Linked DNA regions of Homo sapiens: region 1 is linked to region 2. The links are contacts of gene promoters, found by promoter capture Hi-C in blood cells and fetal thymus (Javierre and others, 2016). All regions are on one chromosome and are shown on one strand. The core of a region is centred on a gene start or on the middle of the fragment in contact, and the rest is flanking DNA. Distances in the headings are between cores, read along the strand shown. Region 1 overlaps EDRF1 (erythroid differentiation regulatory factor 1). Region 2 holds the start of PLEKHA1 (pleckstrin homology domain containing A1).

Region 1 (4,702 bases), core at 1,937-4,436, 3.4 Mb after region 2:
TTGCATATGCTTCTTTTAAGTCTACGTCATGTTATCAGCAAAGATGAGTTTTGACTGCCAAAGTTCAATCAGCCCTTTCATTTTAGCCAATTTGCATACCTTTTGGATATGTGAATACAAAGGATCAGCTTGGTGCATGAGGAGGAAAACCTTGAACATTCCTTCATCTTTCCTGTGGAGTTTTTCATTAAATGGTGGCAGGTTGATCTGGAAAAGCCAGATTTAAAAACCCAGCATGTTGGGTGACCTACACCTTGACTTTGACACCAGAACTGATGGTGTTCAAAGTTGAGAGAGTAGCCTGAGGTCTTATAGAGAAAAATGTATTAATGTACATACTGTAGGACATTTAATGTGTAGGGTTCTCTTTTCTTCTTCCCCCTTCTCAGCAACTCAATCTAAAATATTTCCATGTAACTTGTAGCAAGAGGCACAAATACACTAATACTTTATGAGCTGGTATTTTGGAAATTATCCTAAAGCCTCAGAAAATAAAAGTTATATTTGCAAAAATGCTGTTTGTTTGTAGCATCATTTATAGGAGCAAAAAGTTGGGAATAACCCAAATATCATTTTTTAAAAGAATGGCTTAATCAGTTGTGATTTGTCAACATAATTAAATGTTGTGAGGAAATTTGAATAATTATATTGACTCTATACAAATGCTGTGGCAAGTATTTATATGCTTATCTCATTTAATTCTCACAACAACTCTTTGAGATAGGCACTGTTAATTATATTGCACCTGAGAAAACGGAAGCTGAGAAGAGCTAAATAATTTGGCTCAAGCATACAGTAAATCACAAAGCATGCTTTGCTGTTAGGTAGTCCTTGGTAAGTGTCCTGACTCTGCCATTTAGTAGTTGGAACATGGTGATGTCGGGTACCTTTCAGGCTTATAGACTATAGATGTGCTTCAGGTGGTACGTGGCATCAGTTGGCTGCTCAATTAACATTTTTTTTTAATTTCCTTTTGTGGCTGAATTGGTGTCAGGTACATTTTTTTCATGTATTTTTTTAAGAGGTATTGTATATCACTAGAAACACAATCTCAGAAAGTAAAATCCTGATAAATGTTTCTGTTTCTGTTTTTCTTATCTCTCCACCTAAAAAGAATAAAGTTTTGAACTATTTTCCCTTGGAGACTTTGAGTTTTGTGATTACAAAAATAAAGAATAATTGTTTTTATTCTAAATATTTCCTACTGGATGCTTCTAATGATTATTACCATGTTTTATCAAATCTAAGATGCCATTGACTTTAAGACACACCATTATTTTAGTACCACTAAGAAAAAAAAACTTGCCAACTGTGATGGTGATACACATCCTGGTTTCAGAGTTGTTAAAATGTGGAAAATGTGTATCCTAGAAGCAATGAGCTACAGTATTGTTATTAAGCTCTACTTGCATGATTATGAGCATGACCTCATAACCTGTGTCCTTTTTTCTCTTTGGTAGCTTTGGCATGGCATATGACTTTATTGATTCAGTGGGAAATGATGTGGATGTTGTCTCTGACTCTGAAGTAAGTGTTATTTGTCGCTTAATGTAATTTTGGAGGTGTTTTGTGATAGGTGTTTTATATCATGCTGTGTTTTGCATAATATAAATGTGCAAGTCTTGAGAAATTAGTGATGAAATAAGATAAAACTTACCTGATTATTGAGTATCTTTTTTGTTGTTAAAGTATCATTGTTTACCACATTTGTATTTAAAGAGGAAGGAATAATCAATCCCCAAACACTGGCAGTGGTAATAATATATTGATGGTTATATTTTAATGATAGTAATTGAAACTGATAATAGTGTTTGGGATTATTCTGTATATGTTACCAGTTGAGTTACAAATGATATTTCTAGTAAAATCTATTGGATCCTTAGTGGCTTTGATCTGATATGCTAAAAGCCTGGGTCAGCATAACAGTGTGACGTATACACCCTTAACTTTAAGAAATCCTATCATGTAAAAATAAATGTTTGACTGTCACTAACATAATGTGACTCATAAAGTGTACGTGATTCTGGTTTGAAAGCTCCGTCCTCTGTGTGTTTGCATGTAGCTTTTTGTTTAAAGTTCTATTTGTATAACCTTAAGGAAATAAGGTTTATTATGCTTTAAAATGAATGAAGCTAAAATTTAAAAGATTCCAAATCACACTAAAACAGTCTTTCTAAACTATTTTTTCTCTTAATTTTTTAAGAACATAAAAAAACTCCTGAAAATTCCCTACAGCAAGTCGCACGTGAGCATGGCAGTACACCGCATAGGAAGGACTCTCTTACTAGATGAGCTAGATATTCAAGAACTCTTTATGAGATCGTCTCAGGTAATGCTTTTGTGAAAAAATCCAACAAAACATTAACAGCTTAAGAGCACTAGAAATACGATTTTGTTTCAGAGAATGGCCAAAGTGGAAATGTAGTTGAGTACTTCAACAATCGAGAAATTGAAAGTTTCACTGAAGATAGAAAAGCTTGAATGAAGAAAAAAGAAGAGAATGAGAATGGTGAAGAAAATTATTTTATTGATTCCAACAGCCAGATTCTTTTTTACAAGAAAAAAGATGAAGCCAATGAAGAAAGTTGTGAAAAAAACTGTGAAATTTAAGGGACTAGTTTAATATTTTTAAGAATCCTTTAACGTCTCCCTTAAACAGATTCTCAGGAAACACAGCTACTGGAAAATGTGAAAAATATTAGAAGCTGTTCCTATGAATAAATACAGTCATGTTCCCATAATGACGTTTCAGTCAGCGATGGACTGCATATACCGGTGGTCCCATAAGATTATAATATACTGTATTTTTACTGTATTTGCAGTGTTCAGATACACAAATACTTCAGTCACATGTACAGATTTGTAGCCTGGGAGCAATAGGCTATACCGTATGACCTAGGTAGGGAGTAGGCTGTACCATCCAGGTTTCTATAAGTAACACTCTGCGATGTTCACACCAGGACAAAATCACCTAATGACGCGCTTCTCAGAATATATCCCCATTGTTAAATGACACATGGCTGTAGTTATTAGAATTAATTGATGCTCTTTAGCCTAGATTCTCAAATTGTATGTTGGTAAGGACTGTTTTTCCCACATGTTGAGAATGGATACTTTTGAAAAACATAATAACATTGTTGCAGTTTCTCAAGAACTACCCTCCATATCTGTACTTTTCTTGGGCTGGCAAGAAATAGTTCATGGTCAGTCTTTAAAGAATATTACTACAGTGCTTTGATAAAGAAAATTAAATTATGGTGAGGTAAATGACATTTAAAATAAGTGCTTTTTTCCTTTGAAAAGACCACCGTTTAGTTCATCATGTGAGTATGAGCCTAGGCACGGGGATGTGACAGTGAACAAATCACAGGCCTTGCTCCTCAGCAGTTCATTGTTTGGGGTTATAAACACATACACAGATCATTTCAATATAGTGTGCAAAGTGGGAACTACTGCAGCTGCTAAGGAACATGTTATAGAGAAGACTCACCTCTCCCAGCCTGGCTTAGGAGGAGGAAGACGGGTTTCCTTTAGGAAACAAAAAACAAAAGAAAGGTGGTATGAATTGACCCAGAAAGATATGTTTTTAATGAGTATGTGTTTATGAAACTATTCAAAAAATAATAGGAGCCTTTTCTGTAAGCTAGTACTAGGTAACATTGTTTCGACTATGTGTGTTGTATTAATAATATGTATCTCATGTTATCCAGACTGGTGACTGGACATGGTTGAAAGAGTTTTATCAAAGACTCATTGATCAGAAGTGGCAGAGGAAGAAAAAGAGCAAAGAGCACTGGTATCAAAAGGCAATTCTTTCCAAGTTTTTATATTACAGGTACTTGGCTACTTATTTATCTCTAAAGAGAAAAAGGGAATTCTGATCTAAAATTTAGTGTGAAGCTTAATGAAGTTATAATTTAAGTTTTGCCCCTGTGATACTGTTAACATTTGTTTCATATTTCTTTTTTACAAGATGTATGCTTAATTACAGATTGTAGTTTTTATAAACGGGTAGACTGTTGCATGAAGTTAACTTTAGTAACAGCAATCCTTTTTTATTTCTGGTTTGGCCAGTATCAATGGTGATGGAGCCGCTCAGCCTGTCTCATCCACCGCAGAACAGCAGGAATCGTCCAGTTCAGATCAGACAAATGATTCGGAAGGGGCTTCATGGCCTGCTCCCTTCGAAATGCCTTCTTCAGTTTCTGAAGATCCCAGTGCTTCCAGTCAGGTTAGTACTTAAATGCTAATTCTAGAAACTCACATAGGAAAACAAAGCCTTTTTTAACATCTCGTTAAAAAAAAAAAAAGATGAACAGGACTAAGAAATATTCTGTCAGCTTATGGAATGGGGGAAAAAAGACTTCTGTCAATTTATGGAATTGGAGAAATACTTTTTAGTTTTTCGCAATAGAATTTACAAGAGCTATTATAGGTGGGGAGATCAGATTTTTTTATTAAATCGAAATATAATAGTTGACTGATATGTTTATTAATACTGATTATCTCCTTCAAGTGATGAGTATTATATAGAGATATAGTATATTTTAATTATAAATACTAGTCATTTTTAACTATAAATACTATTTTAACTATAAATATCTGTCAATATTTGATAGACATTTCCTACCAAATATTGAGACTCAGAGACCCATTTGTAATTTAAGTTCTAACCTTTTTACCATAACTTTCAGTCAGATTG
Region 2 (4,470 bases), core at 1,600-4,099:
CCAGCCTGGGCGACAGAGCGAGACTCTGTCCCTTCCGGCAGAAAAAAAAAAAAAAGTAAACAGCTAAACTATAGATCCTTGAATTCAGACTCCTCCTTTTTCTTCAGATGAAAAGTAGCCATGGAATATTCCAGCATTCCTCAGTGCCTTCAGTGAGTCCTGAGTGTTCTTGGTTTGCTCCCAGACTGTAATTTCCCTGTACTATTTTTTTTTTAAATAGCACTGAAAGCACTGTTATGTAATAAACCTCTGCATCCAAAAAAAAAGAGGCTGGAAGAAAAGCAGAGAGCTTTTTTTTTTTGTCTCTGTATTTATTGGCTGATCGGGAGCTATGAAGTTCTGGTTATACTGCAACCTCAAAGCAGTCCTGGGATTATCTTGTTGTGTGTCCTTGGGCAAACTGAGTTACTTTTCTGGCTTTCTTTACTGTATGTAAATATGGCTCTCAATGATAAACAGTTTTGGGGACTTGTTATGCAAAAAGAACAAAGGAGCAATTTTTTTTTCTTGAGTCCCGTTCTGTCCCCCAGGCTGGAGTAGAGTGGCACGATCTCAGCTCACTGCAACCTCCATCACGTGGGTTCAGTTGATTCTCCTGCCTCAGCCTCCCGAGTAGCTGGGACTACAGGTGCCCACCACCATGCCTGGCTAAGTAGAGGGGGTTTCACCATGTTGGCCAGGCTGGTCTCAAACTCCTGACCTCAAGTGATCCGCCCACCTTGGCCTCCCAAAGTGCTGGGATTACAAGCAGGAGCCATCACATTGGCCAAAGGAACAATTTCAAACCACTCATCAATGATGTCAAACAACATTTAGGAGAGAGATCCGGCGGGTCCAGCCTGGAGAGGGTGAGAGGCTCTTGGCCTAAGTGTTCTATTCTCAGGACCAGTATTTTCAGATCAAATAAAAGATGTGAATTTGACTTTGAATTTCAAATAAACAAATTTCCCATCTGGAATCTTCTAGGATTCTAGCACTGACAAGCTAGAGACTCCTTCCAGACCTTCTAGCCAGGGAAGGCAAACTCAAATGCCTACAGGGATAAGACAGGTGACACCTAGATTTTTATTTTTAAATGTTAACCACACATTCAGTTAAATCAACAAAAACCCACTGTGTGGACCAAAGGAAACAATCTGCTCTGGCTACTTTATAAACTATAGTGAGGCCAAACCCTTTCAACCATTATACAGATGAGGACCCCAAAAGGGACAGATGTCAGCAAGGCTGCATAGCTAAGGTTTCTCAAAAGATAACCAAAATATCACGTTGGATGAAAGGCAATTGAAAATGCTAAGTCTCAAAGAGGCAGTCAGAGAGCCGTTCTATGCAGTTTGCAAGATGTTTTCACCTCCATCAATTTATCAGACTCTGAGAACATTCTGCAAGGCAGGCAGGGTGGATGACACTCATTTACAGTCGAGGTCACTGAGGGTCAGAAGGGCAAAGTGTCACTCTCTGCATAAAGTCACATAGGTAAGTCTACACAGGAAAATCTAGGGCTGTTCTTCACTACACCTCTGATTCAGATAACAGGTAGGCTTCCTCTAAGATTTTAATAAAGACAAACTCAAAATCCTGTATGATGCCCCATGAAGAGAAACAAGTCAGGAGGCCAGGCTGAGCCCCCAGACTTCTAACCCAGTTCGCAAATAAAGAAAGTGGCAAAGTAGATAGATTCCAGCCTGTCACCAGGGTTGTGTCTTCTGTCCTAGCAGCTGTACAGCTTGTCTTACCACTGGACATTTGTTTCATGTACATTTTCACATAGGAAGGATATTCTAAAAGATGTTGATAAAGATTTTTTAAAGGGTTTGAAGGGGATAGGATGTGATCTAAGGTTGTGCAAGGAGAGGAAAGGAAGAAGCACACAAAAAGAACAAATATTTATTAAGAGCCTAGAGTGGCATGCGCTGTGAAAGGCGTGGCATGTAATTCTTTCCCAGTTCTTTGCCTGTCTGAATATTTCTCATTCTTCAGGTTTCAGCTCAGATATCACATCCTCAGAGAACTTGCCTTGCCACTCTCTCTGAAGAGCCTCCCCCCGTCCCCGCCACCGCTACTGTCTCTTGAACTTTCTCAGTCTGGCCATTCTATTAAAATCTGGAACGATTTTGCTAGTTTGCGGACGAGTTTCCCCCAAGCTGCAGGCTCCATAAGGGCAGTGACAGTGTCTCTTTCTCAGATGAATGCCGGGTTGCCTATCGCGTACTTGGCACACAGTTAAGTGCTCGAGAAATTGCTAAACACTCAACGAATATTTACCAGAATACATATTTATGCTCCACCGTTGCTGAAAGAATTTCGACTAACCCTTCTTTAAGTCTCTCTTACCCTCCTGTACTATTAACACCATTGTAAGTAGGCAGTGGAGCTACATTTGCAGGGAGAGAGAAGAGCGAAAAATTGGCGCGCAGAGCTGTAAAGCGTTTTTCTCCAGGTCACACCGCAGCCTGTAAATTTGTGACACTTGGACCGATTATGGGACAGCTTGCAAACAAATTATCTGCAAACTAACGAAGCCTATTTTTAAAGATCCCTGTTCCTCGCAGCTCTAGGCGATGACATCAGAGAACCCGGAGTTCTACCTCCGAGCCAAGCCCAGTGGTGGTCAAAAACTACGAATACCAGGAAGCACCGCGGCGCGGCGGCCCAGAGCTCCGCGCGCAGGCCTCCCCGGCGCGCCGAGGCCGCCGCCGCTGGAACCAGGAAGACGCCAGAAACTCGGCCCGCCACGCCGCAGGGACCCGCGCGGGGCCTGCCGGGACTCGTAGTCTCTGCGGGCTGGGAGCGCCCGCTCCGGAATCTCAGCCGCCGTCTGAGGGCTGAGGCAGCGTGGGGACGCGTGCGCAGTGCGCGGGCTGGCCGTCGCGGACGCCGCTCCGGGCAGCCGAGCCTCTGTGGGAGCCGGGGCCGCGGCGGCGCGGGTGCTCCGGGCCGAGGCCGCGGTAAAGTTTAGCTTGAAGAACGCGGCCGCGCTGGAGCAGGGGTGGTGGACGGGGCCAGGCGCGAGGTGGCGGCGGCTGCGGGGCTGCCGGGCTGCTGGAGCGCGGTTCCCGCTGTGGCGAGCGGGGAGGCGTCCGCAGAGGGGCGGTGGGTGCTGGTGAGTGCGGAGCCGGCGCCCCCTCTGCGCACGTCCGCGCCACGCGCCACAGCACCTGGAGGCCGCCGGGCCGGCTCACCTGCCCTGGCTTGGGGCAGCGGGAGGGGGCGGCGTCTTCTTCCCGTGGGTCCCCGATTGTTTTCCCGACGTCAGCCCTCAGCGGCGCCCGGCGGGGGAGGGCGGGAGGCCCGCGGCGGTCGCGGGGCCGACGAGCTCCTCGGCGTCTCCGCCCCCCGAGAAATCCCGCTCGGGGCGCGGTGCGCGCAGCTGCCCGGGGATTCCCGGTGGCGCCGGTCGGAGCGCCTCCCTCCAGGGCTGTGCCCGCGGGGCGCGCGTCCCCGGGCATCCTTTCCTGGTGTTTAATGCATTTTGGCTTCAGGACTTGCCGAGGCCGAAGCCGGCTCCGCCCTGGGCCCTGAAGTCGGGCGGTGTCCGCGATTTACCTCCGCACCTTCGGGGCAGGTGGCCAGAGGCAGCGTTGAAAGCGACTTGCCCAAGGTCACGCAGGTGGCACCGGGGAGGCGACCAGACCCAGGTCTTTCGACGCCGAGGCCAGCTGCCAACCGCAGAGCTTTGGGGCCGTCTTGAGTGGTTTGTGGTTTGTTTCAGATGCTTTCTATTGACCTCCTGGAAAGAGGGGAAAGTGTGTCATAATGAAAGCGGTCCTGTTGCTTATAGTGTTTACCGCCTTTGGTAGAATTCTGGTGAGGCTGTGCCCCCGCGCAGAGCATCTACCGTGGTCTGGGCGTATAAATAATGAAACTCCTTTGCTCTCTGGGGGCAGTACAAGAAGAGGTTCAAGGAACAAATAAATATCCAGGCAGTTTCTGCGTTTTCCTCGTCTGTTTGTTTCACCTTCCAATTCTGCAGTACTGGTTTTCTTATTTTACAATTGATCGTTGTTTTAATAAGATTTTCTTTGTTTTAATGAAGTCATTGCCCCTTGTGAGTTAGTTTTCTAAATAGAAAATCTTATTTCCTGTGTGTTTAATGACTGGAACAAATAGTGCACTATGAGGTTTACACCATTGTCTTTCATCTTAGAACTCCTGATCAATCTGCTTTATTTTCCCAAGTACTCAGCTTGCATACTTTCTATGTTAATTTGATGCCACTGAAACCATTTACAGCAAAGTTTGGGTAAGAGTTATGTGATTGTTTTGTGAAACTGTGTTTTTCTTCACAATCTGAAGAACTTGAAGACCCGTTATATTAAAATAATAAGATTTATTCTGATCAAAATACCTGTTTACTTTTCATGCTCTTAATTTTTCCTGTTGACACACTTGTGGCAAAAGAAATATTTCCCCTAGTGGAGTTAAAGTATTTTTTATCTTGGCCAATTTTCCCAAGGAAAATTGCATTTT

What was found. Contacts are between HindIII fragments. The CHiCAGO score rates a contact against its expected background, and 5 or more counts as called.
Region 1: a contact is called between a fragment that was not itself captured here and the fragment with the promoter of PLEKHA1 in region 2, in 1 of 17 cell types (total CD4 T cells). The highest score is 6.3, in total CD4 T cells.

The regions. Positions count from the first base shown.
Region 1 is chr10:125,721,608-125,726,309 of GRCh38, forward strand. EDRF1 (erythroid differentiation regulatory factor 1) reads left to right here. Exons shown (of 25, transcript NM_001202438.2): 3 at 1,461-1,527; 4 at 2,204-2,329; 5 at 3,711-3,835; 6 at 4,075-4,231. Among named protein-coding and RNA genes, the nearest start is that of EDRF1, 4.2 kb to the left of the region's middle. The HindIII fragment of the contact is 1,424 bases long and covers 2,475-3,898 here.
Region 2 is chr10:122,371,859-122,376,328 of GRCh38, forward strand. It overlaps PLEKHA1 (pleckstrin homology domain containing A1), which reads left to right and starts at 2,850. Exons shown (of 12, transcript NM_001001974.4): 1 at 2,850-2,948. RefSeq lists silencers at 2,558-2,707, 2,848-2,957, 2,998-3,067, 3,088-3,247, 3,258-3,457. The HindIII fragment of the contact is 9,419 bases long and covers 1-4,470 here.